3 separate regions of the Homo sapiens genome follow, and all the other regions are linked to region 3. Evidence: promoter capture Hi-C in human tissues and cell types (Jung and others, 2019). All regions are on one chromosome and are shown on one strand. The core of a region is centred on a gene start or on the middle of the fragment in contact, and the rest is flanking DNA. Distances in the headings are between cores, read along the strand shown.

What was found. The method cuts DNA at HindIII sites, captures the fragments that hold promoters and counts their contacts. A contact is called where the count stands out against the background at its distance.
Region 1: a contact is called between a fragment that was not itself captured here and the fragment with the promoter of KCNE3 in region 3, in 1 of the 25 tissues and cell types used here (dorsolateral prefrontal cortex).
Region 2: a fragment that was not itself captured here is called in contact with the fragment with the promoter of KCNE3 in region 3 in 1 of the 25 tissues and cell types used here (spleen).

The regions. Positions count from the first base shown.
Region 1 is chr11:74,162,109-74,166,636 of GRCh38, reverse strand. The region is part of intron 2 of C2CD3 (C2 domain containing 3 centriole elongation regulator); the gene reads left to right. Among named protein-coding and RNA genes, the nearest start is that of C2CD3, 6.6 kb to the left of the region's middle. The HindIII fragment of the contact is 6,904 bases long and covers 1-4,528 here.
Region 2 is chr11:74,752,348-74,756,724 of GRCh38, reverse strand. All of the region lies in intron 1 of RNF169 (ring finger protein 169), which reads right to left. Among named protein-coding and RNA genes, the nearest start is that of RNF169, 5.7 kb to the right of the region's middle. RefSeq lists enhancers at 775-1,396, 1,396-1,975. The HindIII fragment of the contact is 4,097 bases long and covers 1-4,053 here.
Region 3 is chr11:74,464,806-74,469,061 of GRCh38, reverse strand. KCNE3 (potassium voltage-gated channel subfamily E regulatory subunit 3) reads left to right here and starts at 1,513. Exons shown (of 3, transcript NM_005472.5): 1 at 1,513-1,664. The HindIII fragment of the contact is 14,037 bases long and covers 1-4,256 here.

The sequences.
Region 1 (4,528 bases), core at 1,327-3,826, 300 kb after region 3:
CACATATAGTAATATCATATGAATATTCTAGGAAGTTAATAAGGGCTAATCTTATGTTATTAAGAAGCCAGAATCCTGCTTCTACTCTATGCTCTTGCTGTTTGACTTTGAGCAAGCCATTTCATCTTCTTGGGCCTTAATTTTCCCACCAGTAAATTGAAAGAGTTAAAACATCAAATGTGCCAGCACCCAAATTTCATAATTCTAGTTAAGAAAGAAGGCCATGGAAAAGGTAGAATTTCAATAGGAGACACATGAGGTGAACCTTATAAGTGACAGTCCAACTGTAGACATGACATGGTTTTTTTTTTTTTTTTTTTAAGACGGAGTCTCACTCTGTTGCCCAGGCTGGAGTGCAGTGGCGCAATCTTGGCTCACTGCAAGCTCCGCCTCCCACTTCCTGGGTTCACGCCATTCTCCTGCCTCAGCCTCCTGAGTAGCTGGGACTACAGGTGCCCGCCACGACACCCAGCTAATTTTTTATATTTTTAGTAGAGATGGGGTTTCACCGTGTTAGCCAGGATGGTCTCAATCTCCTGATCTCACGATCTGCTCGCCTCAGCCTCCCAAAGTGCTGGGATTACAGGTGTGAGCCACCGCACCCGGCCGACATGATGTGTTTTTTAGAAAATGAAGCGATAAGAGGCTGAACGTGGTGGCTCACGCCTGTAATCCCAATACTTTGGTGGCTGAGGCAGGAAGATCACTTGAGGCCAAGAGTTCAAGACCAGCCTGGGTAAAACCCTGTTTCTACAAAAAAATTAGATTCCACATGCATAGCAAGACCCTGTTTCTACAAAAAAAAATTTTTTTAATTAGCTGGGCATGGTGGTGCACACCTGTAGTCCCAGCTACTTGGGAGGCTGAGGTGAGAGAAATCACTTGAGCCCAGGAAGTCGAGGCTGCAGTGAGCCATGTTCATGCCGCTGTACTCCAGCCTGGGTGACAGAGTGAGACCCTGTTTCTAAAAAAGAAAGAAAATGACAGAAAATGAAGAGATAAGACATCAAATATTAGTTCACAAAAGTATGTGCTCTAACCAAAAACTTGGAAAAAGTATGCTATTTCTTAAGCTGTGTGGTAGGTATTCGCATTATTATTATTTTATTTACTCTTTTGTGTACATATTTCACTTAATACAAAATGCAAAAAGTAAACTAATTAATATGTTGTCACATATTAGCATGAACCATATTTTTTTCTCAAGCCATTTTTATTACACTTAAGGTATTAAGACAAGTGCAAAATAACCTTGTAATTAGGATACTGTATCAGTCAAAAAAGGAGAAGTCACTATTGCATGAAGAGATTTACAAATGAGTGAAATATATAGGCTGTGCCAGAATTAACATTTGAAATGAGATGGGGTTGCTCTTTTTTTCTAGGCTGGAGAGAGGTAGTAAGAACGATTATATGAGTTCCTCAGATAAAAATAACATATAAAAAAAGAAGAGGAAATGTATCACATTTTACAATTTTTGAAATACTTTCAAGTCTATCATCTTATTTGATGTTTAAAATCATTTTATTTATTTCTTCGTATCTATTTTATTTTATTTTATTTTTGAGAAAAGGTCTCTCTCAGACAGCCGGGCTGGAGTGCAGCGATGCAAACACAGTTCACTGTAGCCTCAACCTCCTGGGTTCAAGCAATCTTCCCACCTCAGCCTCCTGAGCAACTGGGAATATAAGCACATGCCACGACACTCACCTAATTTTTGTATTTTTTGTGGAGATGAGGTCTCATTGTTGTTCCCCAGGCTGGTGTCAAACTTCCATACCCAAGCAATCCTCCTGCCTTGGCCTCCCAAAGTGCTGGGATTACAGGTGAGCCACCATGCCTGGCCACTTTCTTCATATCTATTTTACCTTATTCTAAACAGAAGTTAAGGCAATTGCAAAAACATGTTAAGTACAGATTTCTGTTTAACTAATGAGAAAACCTTTACATTTTAAATCTTCATAACTTTTTGTTTACAGAAAGTGAAAATACAGTAGGAGAAATAAGATGAAGCCTCTGCAGAGCACTAGAAAGCATGCTCTGAGGCCCTGTACATTTGCAACGGGTATTATCCTGATTTTCTGAGTGACGAATTTGAGGTTCAAAGAGTTAAAAGTAACTAACCCAAGGTTACCCTGGCACCAACCCTAAATTCAGGGAGGCACTTGACTCCGAAATTATTGATACTTCTATTGTATTATACTGCCTTAGGAAATAGAAGGATTATAGGATTCTGAGATATGCCTCATACTCTTACATCTTTCTTCCTTTACGTTTTATTCTGTTGCAGAAAATAGCAGCCATGAAAATGTTTGGAGCATGGAACTACTAGAGTAGAAACTGAGAAAATTATGGCTACACTACGTGATTTTTACCTGTCTTTGATCAGATAGGATTCAGTTAGTAGGAATGTGAAAGACAAATCGGAGTAGGAATAGTGCTGGACAGTAGGGATTCTAATTCCACAACAAGTGAAGTATAAAGGTCAGAAGTCTACTAAGAATTAAGCTTTTTGTCCTAGAAGTGATGAATAGTGTAGTGGACTTATAATTAAGTGTAGTGGACTTATAATTGGATAGAACTGAGTTTTAGCCCAGTTCTGTCAATTTAAAGCTGGGTGAACCTAGGAATATACATGACTTTGCGGAGCCTCTTTTATCCCCAAATGAAGACAGAAACACCAGTATCGTAGAGTTGTTAAGAGAATTAATGAGATGTGGAAGACCCTGGCTGTTAGTAAATAGCCAATGAATACATGTTAGTCCATTTCCCTTATTCTTCATGTGTACATCATTTTATAGTCTACAAAGCACTTTTATATCTATTTGCTCATATGACTTTCAGATAACCCCCATGAGTGGTGTATTAGTCCATTCTCATGCTGCTATAAAGACATACCTGAAACTGGGTAATTTATAAAGAAAAGATGTTTAATTGACTCACAGTTCCACATGGCTGGGGAGGCCTCAGGAAACTTACAATCATGGCAGAAGGGGAAGCAAACACGTCCTTCACATGGCAGCAGGAGAGAGAAAAATGAGTGCCCAGCAAAGCAGGAAGCCCCTTATAAAACCATCAGATCTCGTGAGAGCTAACTCACTATCATGAGAACAGGATAAGGAGAACCGCACTTGTGATTCAGTTATCTCCCCCGGTCCTTCCCATGACACATGGGGATTATGGGAATTACAATTCAAGATGAGATTTGGATGGGGACACAGCCAAACCATATCAAGTTGTTACACAGGGACTATGATATGTCAAGTAATTTGCCTAAAGTCATTTACCAACCATTCAGCAACTACCATGTGGGAAGACACTGGACTGTACTAGTGTTCTGCTTGCAGCAACCCCAGTTCCTCAGAACAGCAGTGATGCGAATATTATGAGCCTACTTTACAGACAACCATGGCTTATACAGAAATAGCTTGTGAATATTGCAGTCAGAACACAATCACAAGTCTTCTAATAATAATTCCTACATGCTTTTCACTACAGTATTAACAAATGCTGAAAACGAACCATTTTCTCAACTTTGGTTAAGAAAATACCAGAAGTTAAACTGTTCTGAAATGATCTGAGATTCCTTATGCATACATTATATTTCTTCTCCTCTGGGCATGAAGGTATTAGTCTAAGTGACCAAAGAGTATAGTTGAGAAGTTTATTTTCATTTCTCTTGGTTCCAAGTGCTCTCAATAGCTCAGTGGTCCAGATATAACCCAAGAGTATGCAATTAGATACTCCTGGGAGGCAGGGACCAACCCTTGCAGCTGTGCAAGGGCAATCCTTTGTCAATTCAAAACTAGAAATGGTGAGAATGAAAACTGAGATTTGTTGCTCTGTGTGTCAAAACCAAAGCCTGAGTTATTGGCAAATACATTTAACAATACTCTTTTAAGGGTATTTTTCTTATCAAATACTTGCTATGCTAAATATTTTTGGTCAGTTGATTTATTTTTTCCTCAGTGTGTGGTATTTGTTGTTGTTCTGTGAATCTTTATTGTTCTTTTGATCTTGGGTTCATACTCCTCTACCCCCAGAATGGTATGATAAGTGATTATTTGAAATTAAAATACTTTTTTAAGTTAAATTACTTTTTCCAGATAGTTTTGTTATCTCTGTTATAGTTTTTAAATCAGTTGTATTTTCTATCAGTTGTGTCACTTTTTTCATTAGGAAATACATGCACATGGTAAAACATTTTAAAGGTATGAAAGGTTACCAGTCTCTTGTGTATCTTTACACAAGAATATATTTACTTATAAAATAAATTCTATACTAATAAAAGCTCTTTGCATAATTTCTTTTATTTACACAGATTATATACATATACAGTCAGCACTTTTTTTTCTACTTAGCAATTCATCTTGGATGTTGTTCCATATCAGTATAGAGCTACTTATATTCTTTTTATTACTTTATTTTTCACCATTTTGCCATTATTAAAAAAACACATTTTATTAAATATTCTGGTACATAGATCAATTTACAGCTTGTAAAATAAAGTTTAAGGAGTAGGCTAGC
Region 2 (4,377 bases), core at 756-3,255, 290 kb before region 3:
AACCACTTCTGTTTACAATCCCTAGAACGCTCCTTGTTTCATGTTCCTATGCCTTTAAATGTACTATTTCCCTCTCTCATCTTTATTCTGACCTCATCCACCTAATGAATACTGATGGTCAAATGTCTGGCATTCACTGAAGCCATTCCTGACCCATCCAAACTAGATTATCTTCTTTGTGAAAATACCTTACATTTGTTGACCTAGCTCTTCATATACCAAGCATTGTAATAATTCATTTAGTCTTTAACAACAACCTTATGATTTTAATACTATTACTATTCCCATTTTCCAAATGAAGAAACTAAGACACAGAGAGTATCCAATAACATACAGCTATAAATAGCAAAGCTAGAATTTGAACCCAGGTAGTCTGTCTCCAGGTTTTCCTCTATTAGCCTGCTCTATTAATATATACTATACTGCCTTCTACAATTATATCTTGCATAACAGCTATTATAATACTTATAATACCACATTTCAGTTGCATATTTACATCCCAATCTTCCCAACTACACTTTGGGACAGAACCATGCTTTACCTCTATTTGCAGCTCTAGTGCCTAGACCTAGCACACAGAAGACCCTCAAATGGTTACTAAATTAATGAATGACTGAAGTTAACACTGCCACAGCCAATGCTTTAGTCCAGGCCCTCTTCGTCGCTTGCCTGAACTACTAAAACAGTCCCCTAACGACTCCCCACCTCCAGTTTCTACTCACATCTTTCCTCTTCCAACCAATATATATTGTCTTTCTAAAGCACAGTATGATTATGTTATTCCACCACTTAAAAATCTTTAAGAGCTTTATAGGATAAAGTCCAAAATTCTTTTACCCTAATACACAATGGCCTTCATGATCTAACTTCAGTCTCTTCTCTACTTCCCCACTCCAGTCCACACTCCACCTATATTTAGCTTTTTGCCAGTCCCTGAACATCCCAAGCACCTTCAAGCCTTTCTACATGCAGGCTCTTCTACCTGGAATGGACATCCCCTCCTTCCTCATCTGGTGAATTCCTACTCTTTCTTCAACATACAATTCAAATGCCTTCCTCAGGCTTCCTGCAAATTGTCAGTCAGCCCATTCCTCTACTCTGTTAGCATTGTCTGTTTACCTCACTTAACACGTTGTATTGTTATTTGAGTATGTGTTTCCCCAACCACACTGTGGAGTCTTAAAGAAAAGGTACCATGTCTTATTCATCTTTTTTTATTGCATCATCTTGCACAATGTGTGCCCCTCAAAATGCTCACTGAATTAGTGGAATGAAATTTAACAAACATATCCTACATCATATACTCAAGCCAACTCAGATACAAATTAATTCAAGGTAGGCAACTCTTTCAGGATTAACTAGAAGACAGGGAGTGAAAATATGAATAAACAAATACCTCCTAAATTCCTGCTGTTCAATTCTGAATTCATACATTGGAGCTATTCTTCAATAGTAATTACTGTTTAGTTGGTAGAGTGCATGTAATCTCATCAAGAGCTTTAAAAAACATCTTAGCACAAGGCAAATGTTTCCTGTATTGGTATAACACATAAGGACACTCTCAAATTCTCGGATATGTGTCATTAAGGATAAAGAAATGAGTCATTTTACATATTTTAAACAAATCCTTACAGACTAGGGAATTCCTGTCCTCTTGCACTACAATCACATGGTTTCATTATTCATTAGTCCTAAATGTAATTTAGGCTGCACACATAGCAAACATTGTCTGTCAACTGAGTAATAAACCAGAACTACTTGCTTTTCACAGAAAGGGGAAATTTTTTAAATGCAGAAATGTTAACCCTAAGTGAACAGGGAAGTTGAGATGGGATGAGAAGGGATAAGTAAGGCACTATTCAATTGTTTATCTATTCAATTTTCGTGTTTTGTTTATTTGTTTTTCAGAGAGAGTCTCGCTCTGTCGCCCAGACTGGAGTGCAGTGGCGCAATCTCGGCTCACTGCAACCTCTACCTCCCGGGTTGAAGCGAATCTCCTGCCTCAGCCTCCCGGTAGCTGGGACTATAAGCGTGCACCACCACGTCCGGCTAATTCTTGTGTTTTTAGTAAAGACAGGGTTTCCCCATGTTGGCCAGGCTGGTCTCAAACTCCTGGCCACAACTGATCCGCCCACCTCTGCTTCTCAAAGTGCTGGGATTACAGATGTGAGCCACCGCGCCTGGCCTATCTATTCAATTTCTGAAAAGCACTTTTAACACCACGAAGATAAAAAAATTTAAACTGCCAATTTAAAAGATTCACCAGCCTTTGTCTAGCTTTTCTTCAGTCATTACCCATAGCCGAAGAAAAAGAATCCTAAAAAGTAAAAAGGTCTCGGTTTCAAATCTAAAAGCAGTATGATTTGGAATAACCATCCTTGATTTCAAACAGACTAAATGAATTCTTAAAATTCATTAATCATTTTTAAATGATGCTTAAGTGTGGCTGCAATGTATAGTTCAAAATCTACCTATGTAAGCCTGTATGGTAAGTATGTTTTTTAAATCAACAGATAAGGAATGTCTCTAAATTTAGAATATAAGCTCCATGAGAGAGAGAGATCTTTAATATTTCATTCACTAATGTTTCCCAAAGACCTGGCACAGAGTAGACACATATTACATAATTCCTGAATATTGCTCAAAATGGTCCAAATATTTAATATGTCAATATATACGAGTTGCAGATCCTCAAAGAATATGAAGTTGAACTCTGAGTTCATTTTGAAATGATCACTGATGTAGCCTTTACACACACAGTTTCACAAATCAACAAAAACTGATACTATATCCAAAAGCAAACCGTGAATGCATAAAAGAATTAAATAAAACATGTACACAGGGGTCATTAAGGTTCTGAACCTTAAAGCTTGCCAAAAAAGCAGGCAAAGAACAAAAATGTCACCAGTGCAACCAAAATTTTCAAGAAAACACAAACTCTTTACACTTTTTCCACAAAGCAATTCCTAAAGAGGCACTGGACTTCAACAAAATAAAAAAAAAATTAAGAACGTCACTTAAATACCAGTGCATTTACTACAAAATTTCATTTCCAGCAGGCCTGATGTTTCCTTTATCAATTGATCCAACTATGTGATGAGAATACAACTAAGCAATATATCTCTGAATATTACTAAAATTGCTATTAGGCTGGTACAAAAGTAATTGCTGTTTTTGCCATTGAAAGTTATGGCAAAAACCATAATTACTTTTGTGCCAACCTAGTAATCCTGTTGCTGTTTCCACTCATAAAAGCACAATGTAAATATTTATAAAACTGGTATTATTAGTTTTCCTTATTAAAGCTATTATGAACATTTCACTGTGAATTAGGCTGTTTCTGTTGACCCTTTTTCATCTACTATCAACTCATGTAAACTCTTACTCTCTTATCTGTTCTGGGCCTCAGTTTTCTCTTCTGTAGAATGAGAGACATAGATTAAAACAATGGTTCAAGGCTGGGCGCGGTGGCTCACCGCCTGTAATCCCAGCACTTTGGGAGGCCGAGGTGGGTGGATCACCTGAGATCAGGAGTTTGAGACCAGCCTGATCAACATGGAGAAACCCCGTCTCTACTAAAAATACAAAATTAGCCGGGCGTGGTGGCGCACACCTGTAATCCCAGCTACTCGGGAGATGGAGACAGGAGAATCGCTTGAACCGGTGAGGCGGAGGTTGCGGTGAACCGAGATCATGCCATTGCACTCCAGCCTGGGCAACAGAGCAAGACTCTGTCTCAAAAAATAAATTAATTAATTAATAAATAAAATAAAACAATGGTTCAGATTCTGGTGAAAGCTACTGGTGACTTCTCCATAAAAATGCACACATGCATTTACATAATGATTTTATAAACAATTATTTATAATAGCAAAAGACAGGAAACAATCAAAATGTCCACCAATAGGTGGTTAATTATGCTATATCCACTCAGTAAAATTCCATACAACATACTGCTGTGGACTTTGATGATGTATTCTTAAACCAAAAAAAAAGCAAGTTACAGAACAGTGTGTATAATGTACAACCTTTTGTATAAAAATGGCAAAAAATAAGCATACTTGAATTTTCATGTAGATAGATCCATAAACTGTGGAAGAACAAACAAGAATCTTTTTTTTTTTTTTTTGAGACAGAGTCTTGCTCTGCCACCAGGCTGGAGTGCAGTGGCATGATGTCAGCTCACTGCAGCCTACGCCTCCCAGGTTCAAGCGAGTCTCCTGCCTCAGCCTCCCCAGTAGCTGGAACTACAGGCGTGTGCCACCGCACCTGGCTAATTTTTGTATTTTTAGTAGAGACAAGGTTTCACCATGTTAGCCAGGCTGGTCTTGAACTCCTGACCTCAAGTGATCCGCCCGCCTTAGCCTCCCAAAGTGC
Region 3 (4,256 bases), core at 264-2,763:
TCTACTTAGTAAAACAAGCTCCCCAGGGGATTCTTAGGCAGATTGAAAACTGAGGTTGCAGGATGGGCACAGTGGTTCATGCCTGTAATCCCAGAACTTTGGGAGGTGGAGGTGTGCAGGTCACTTGAGCCCAGGAGTTCGAGATCAGCCTGGGCAACATGGAGTAACCCAATTTCTATAAAATACAAAAATTAGCCAGACATAGTGGTGTGTCCCAGTTACTCAGGAGGTTAAGGGAGGAGGATCACCTGAGCCCAGGAGTTCAAGGCTGCTGTGAGCCATAATCACTCCACTGCACTCCAGCCTGGGTGACACAGTGAGATCCTGTCTAAAGGAAGGAAGGAAGGAAGGAAGGAAGGAAGGAAGGAAGAAAGAAAGGAAGGAAGGAAGGAAACTGAGATTGCATGCTTAGGTGATTAGGATGACTTTTCTGAGAGGTGATCTCCAGACTGAGAAAAAGGAATAGTAGGGTCAAAACAAGGTGGGTACAATATACCCACCTTGTATATTGTATACAATATACAATATACCCACCTTGTAGTAGGTCTTTTTAAAACGATAGCACTTCTTAGATATATTCTGGGATTCTGTAATTGAGAGTATGTGCTTCAGATATCCTGGAGCAGACCTTTGCAAGGGAGTGAAAGAGCTGGCCTGAGGCTGTTATTAATTATTCTGAGGCAGTGAGCTGGTAAAAGGGCACCCCACAGGGTCCCCCGGAGAAATTCTCTGCAACTGTCCCTTCCTCTGCCACTAGCCTCCTGGCTCTTATTCCTCAGCTGCCCCGGCTGCCCCAGTTCTCTGAAGCCTGCAATGTCACCAGCAAGGAAACAACAGTTTGAGTGAGGGCATGGTGGTGGGAAAATAAACTGTTCTGGGACAGAGATGAGTAAGGTGCGGCTGAACACAAGTTGGTCAGGCACTGTCACGAACTTTTGAGGCTTGGTGGAGGAAACATTTGCTGGTGCTACTCAGAGACAGAGGGGTGTGTAGTGGATTTTGGGTCTGGGCTCTGCTACCTGGGCAAATCCCTTCTCCAACTGGGCCTCTGCGTCCTGTGTGGAAAAGAGTTTGTGTAAGAATCATATTATTTTGCTGTTGACCCTTTGGTTTTAATACTTTGGACTCAAAGGTCTCATCTGACCTCAACCATAAGCCTGTGAAGAATGCATGGAGGAACTGTACCAACTTTACAGCCAGGCCAAGGCCCAGTGAGGGGCAGCGACTCGCCCACCACCACACAGCCACACTGGAGCAAAACCGACTCCTGGAGATCGGCCTCATGCTGGGCTTGCTGAGGCCCAGCGGAGCGAGAGGCTTTCGGTCTCTGGTCCAGGAAGCAGGCGCTGCAGGGGACGGAAGGGTCGGAGCCCACAGCCGGGGGAGGCCAAGGAGCTGGGCGGAGGCACTCCAGGCCAGCCCGGGGAGAAGTGGGTGTGCTGGGGCCCGGGCGGGGCAGGGGGAGGGGACGCCCGGGGGAGGGAAAAGGGAGCCGAGCGCGGGTGGGAGCCCAGAGCCAGAGAGCGCGCTGGGCGGTGCTGGGCACCCGCGGAGTGGAACGGGGCTGGTGGAATGCACAGGGTCGCAGCGCTTGGGCCACCCTCGGTCAGAGGGCGCCGTGTCCAGCGAGCAAACGGGCGCCCCGGAGCCTTGCTGAGAGGCAGGTAAGGCACCCACCCAGCTGGGAAGGCTGAGCTGCGGCCTGGGGTGGAAATGAGGGGTCTTCCCGCCTCCCTTCCAAGGGCCACGGCGCGCTCTCCGTGAGACTGTGGAACCGAGGGGGAGTGGGGGAGGGGTGGGCGCTGCAAATACCAAGCTAGTCCTCCCGGATCCTCCCCGATCCTCCCGAGCGCAGTGATCGTGGAGCAGCATGTGGGAGTAGGGAGCTGGGCTCTGCGCGCCCCGTCTGGAAACCGTGGGGACTTGCGCCGTTATTCCCAGCCCTCAAGACGGCCACAAGAAAAGTTCCTCCACACCCACAGACGTGCAAGCGAACACTTGCAGCTGGCAGCCAGTGCACACGCAGAAACGACATTTCAGGACCCAGCACAGTCTCATTTGGCTGGAGCCACCGGCTCTGCGGAGCTGACTTGCCCATTCCCTCTACACCTCACTGTGTCCTTCACCCTGTCTGACCTAGTCCCGGGAAACCTGGTGACTCCCAAAAGCATCTTCTGCTGCCAGTAACATAGGTCGAGGCTGGGAGTCGGGAGACTTGAGTTCTAGTTTACAGGCTGTGTAAACCCGGGCAGTCATCCCTCAGCTCTGCGCCTTGTGCTCGCTTTTCCTGGGCCACCATTTGTAAAACGGGCCTCCTGCTCCTGTTGCCTGCATACCCCATGGGACAGAAGGGGAAAGGGGGATTGGACCTCAGAGTCTCTTATCTCGAAAATAAATGAGTTTAGTTCTTGCGTGAAAGCCCACCAGAGTATCCCTCCTAAAATCCTCTCCACTAATTTGCATATAGGGAAACTGATGCCCCAGGGGAGATGATTTACCTAAGGTTACAACAGAGACCAAACAGAATTAGAACCCAAGTTTCCTCAGTCCTAGCCCAGGGCTCTCTCCACTTCACCTACAAAGGCATGTTGTAAACGTGTGAGCTCCTCCTTATTTCCTTGCATCCGTCCACTTTGTCTGTTCCTGATGGAGGAAGACCCATGCTGGGGGCCTAGAAGCTGCTTTCAGATTTTCTTGACTCCTTGAGATGATAACCATCACCTTCTCCATCCCTCACTCAGTCTATACGTCTCAAAGCACATCCATAAACTTAATGTGCGAGTGCTCAAAATACCTTCTAAGAGGGAAGCAAGACAAGAAACTCCATCTTACTGATGAGGAAAATGAGGCCTAGAGGGATATAGACTTAGAGTGATAAAGTTACTTAACCAAAACGCACGGCTAGACGTGTTGGCCTAGTAGGGGCAGGAACCCAGGTCTCCTGATTCCCCCTCTGATGTGTTCTCCACCAGCTACAGGACTACAGAATGGTACCCCTCAATGATAAGGGACTGCGGGAATGATCATAGAGGGTAGGAAACAGGAAGGCTTCTGGAGAAGGTGAGGTTCCTGGGAATCAAGAAGAATAATAAGAACCTCCTGGCTGCTTCTGAGGCTAGGAGACCTGGAGTGGGAAAGGAGACACAGAGATGGTTGTTCTTGGTAATATGGGGGGAAAGGAAAGATGTGGAGACAGAAAAGGAAAACAGTGTGACCAGCCTGCCTGATAATTATCTTGTATGTTTGCAATTTCTAAAACATTCCCATCTCTTGTCTCCTCTAGTTCTCATGTGTGGTAGGCAGGGCAGGGATCATTATCCCCATCTTATAGATGAGGTTCAGAGGAAGTAAATGCAGTGCTCAAGGACACAGAGCCAAGCATACAGCCAAGATTAGAATCATGAAAGGAACACTTGAACGGCAAGATCACAGGCTGAGGGACTGGGGAGTTGGACTGTGTGTGTGTGTGCAGTGGGTGGGTGTATGTGGCCACACCCTGGGTAGGTACACAGGGAAGAGGGTTGCAAAGCCATTGCTGGTGTTTTGAGGCCAAGAATGTTTGCCCTTTGGATTGAATGGGGTCCAGGTGCAGGGAGCATCTGGGCTTCCAAAGAAGGCTTAGAATTCTTCCTCCTCTGACTCACCCCACCTGACTGAGATGGCTTCTTTTCTTTGAGCCATCCCTTCCCCAGACCAAATGAAATCTGTTTTGCCCTGCCCTGGAGGTTGCTTTTTAAATATTGTAAACTGTTTTCATGAATGTATGTGCGTGTGCCAGAGCGGGGGAATGCTCTTAGAGAAGAGGCATTGATTCATTTATTCTTGAATGCCTGCTAGGTATCAGGGCTGGGAAATAAAGAAATGTATGAGGCACAGGACCCTGCCCTCTTACCTTAAAGCGCACAGTTACACACATACACATACACACACACACATACACACACACACACACACACACAGAGTTTCAGTACAGTATAGTGCTCTAATAAGCCTTCGTGCAAAGCACTTTTGGGAAAAAACAAGAGGGAGAGACTAACTGGCTAGGGAGTGAGGAAGGAGGAGTCCCAGGAGAAGGTCTGCAGAGATGAATTGGAGTTGGGTCTTGAAGGATGAGTAGGAGTTTGCCAGGCAGGTAAAAAGAGGAAGGGCATTCTTGTTTAAGAAAACAGCATGAGCAAAGGCAAGAGATGTGCAAGTGCAAGGAATATTTGGAGAGTGGCCTGTACTTCAGTGTCATGGGTGCAGGCCACTGAAAA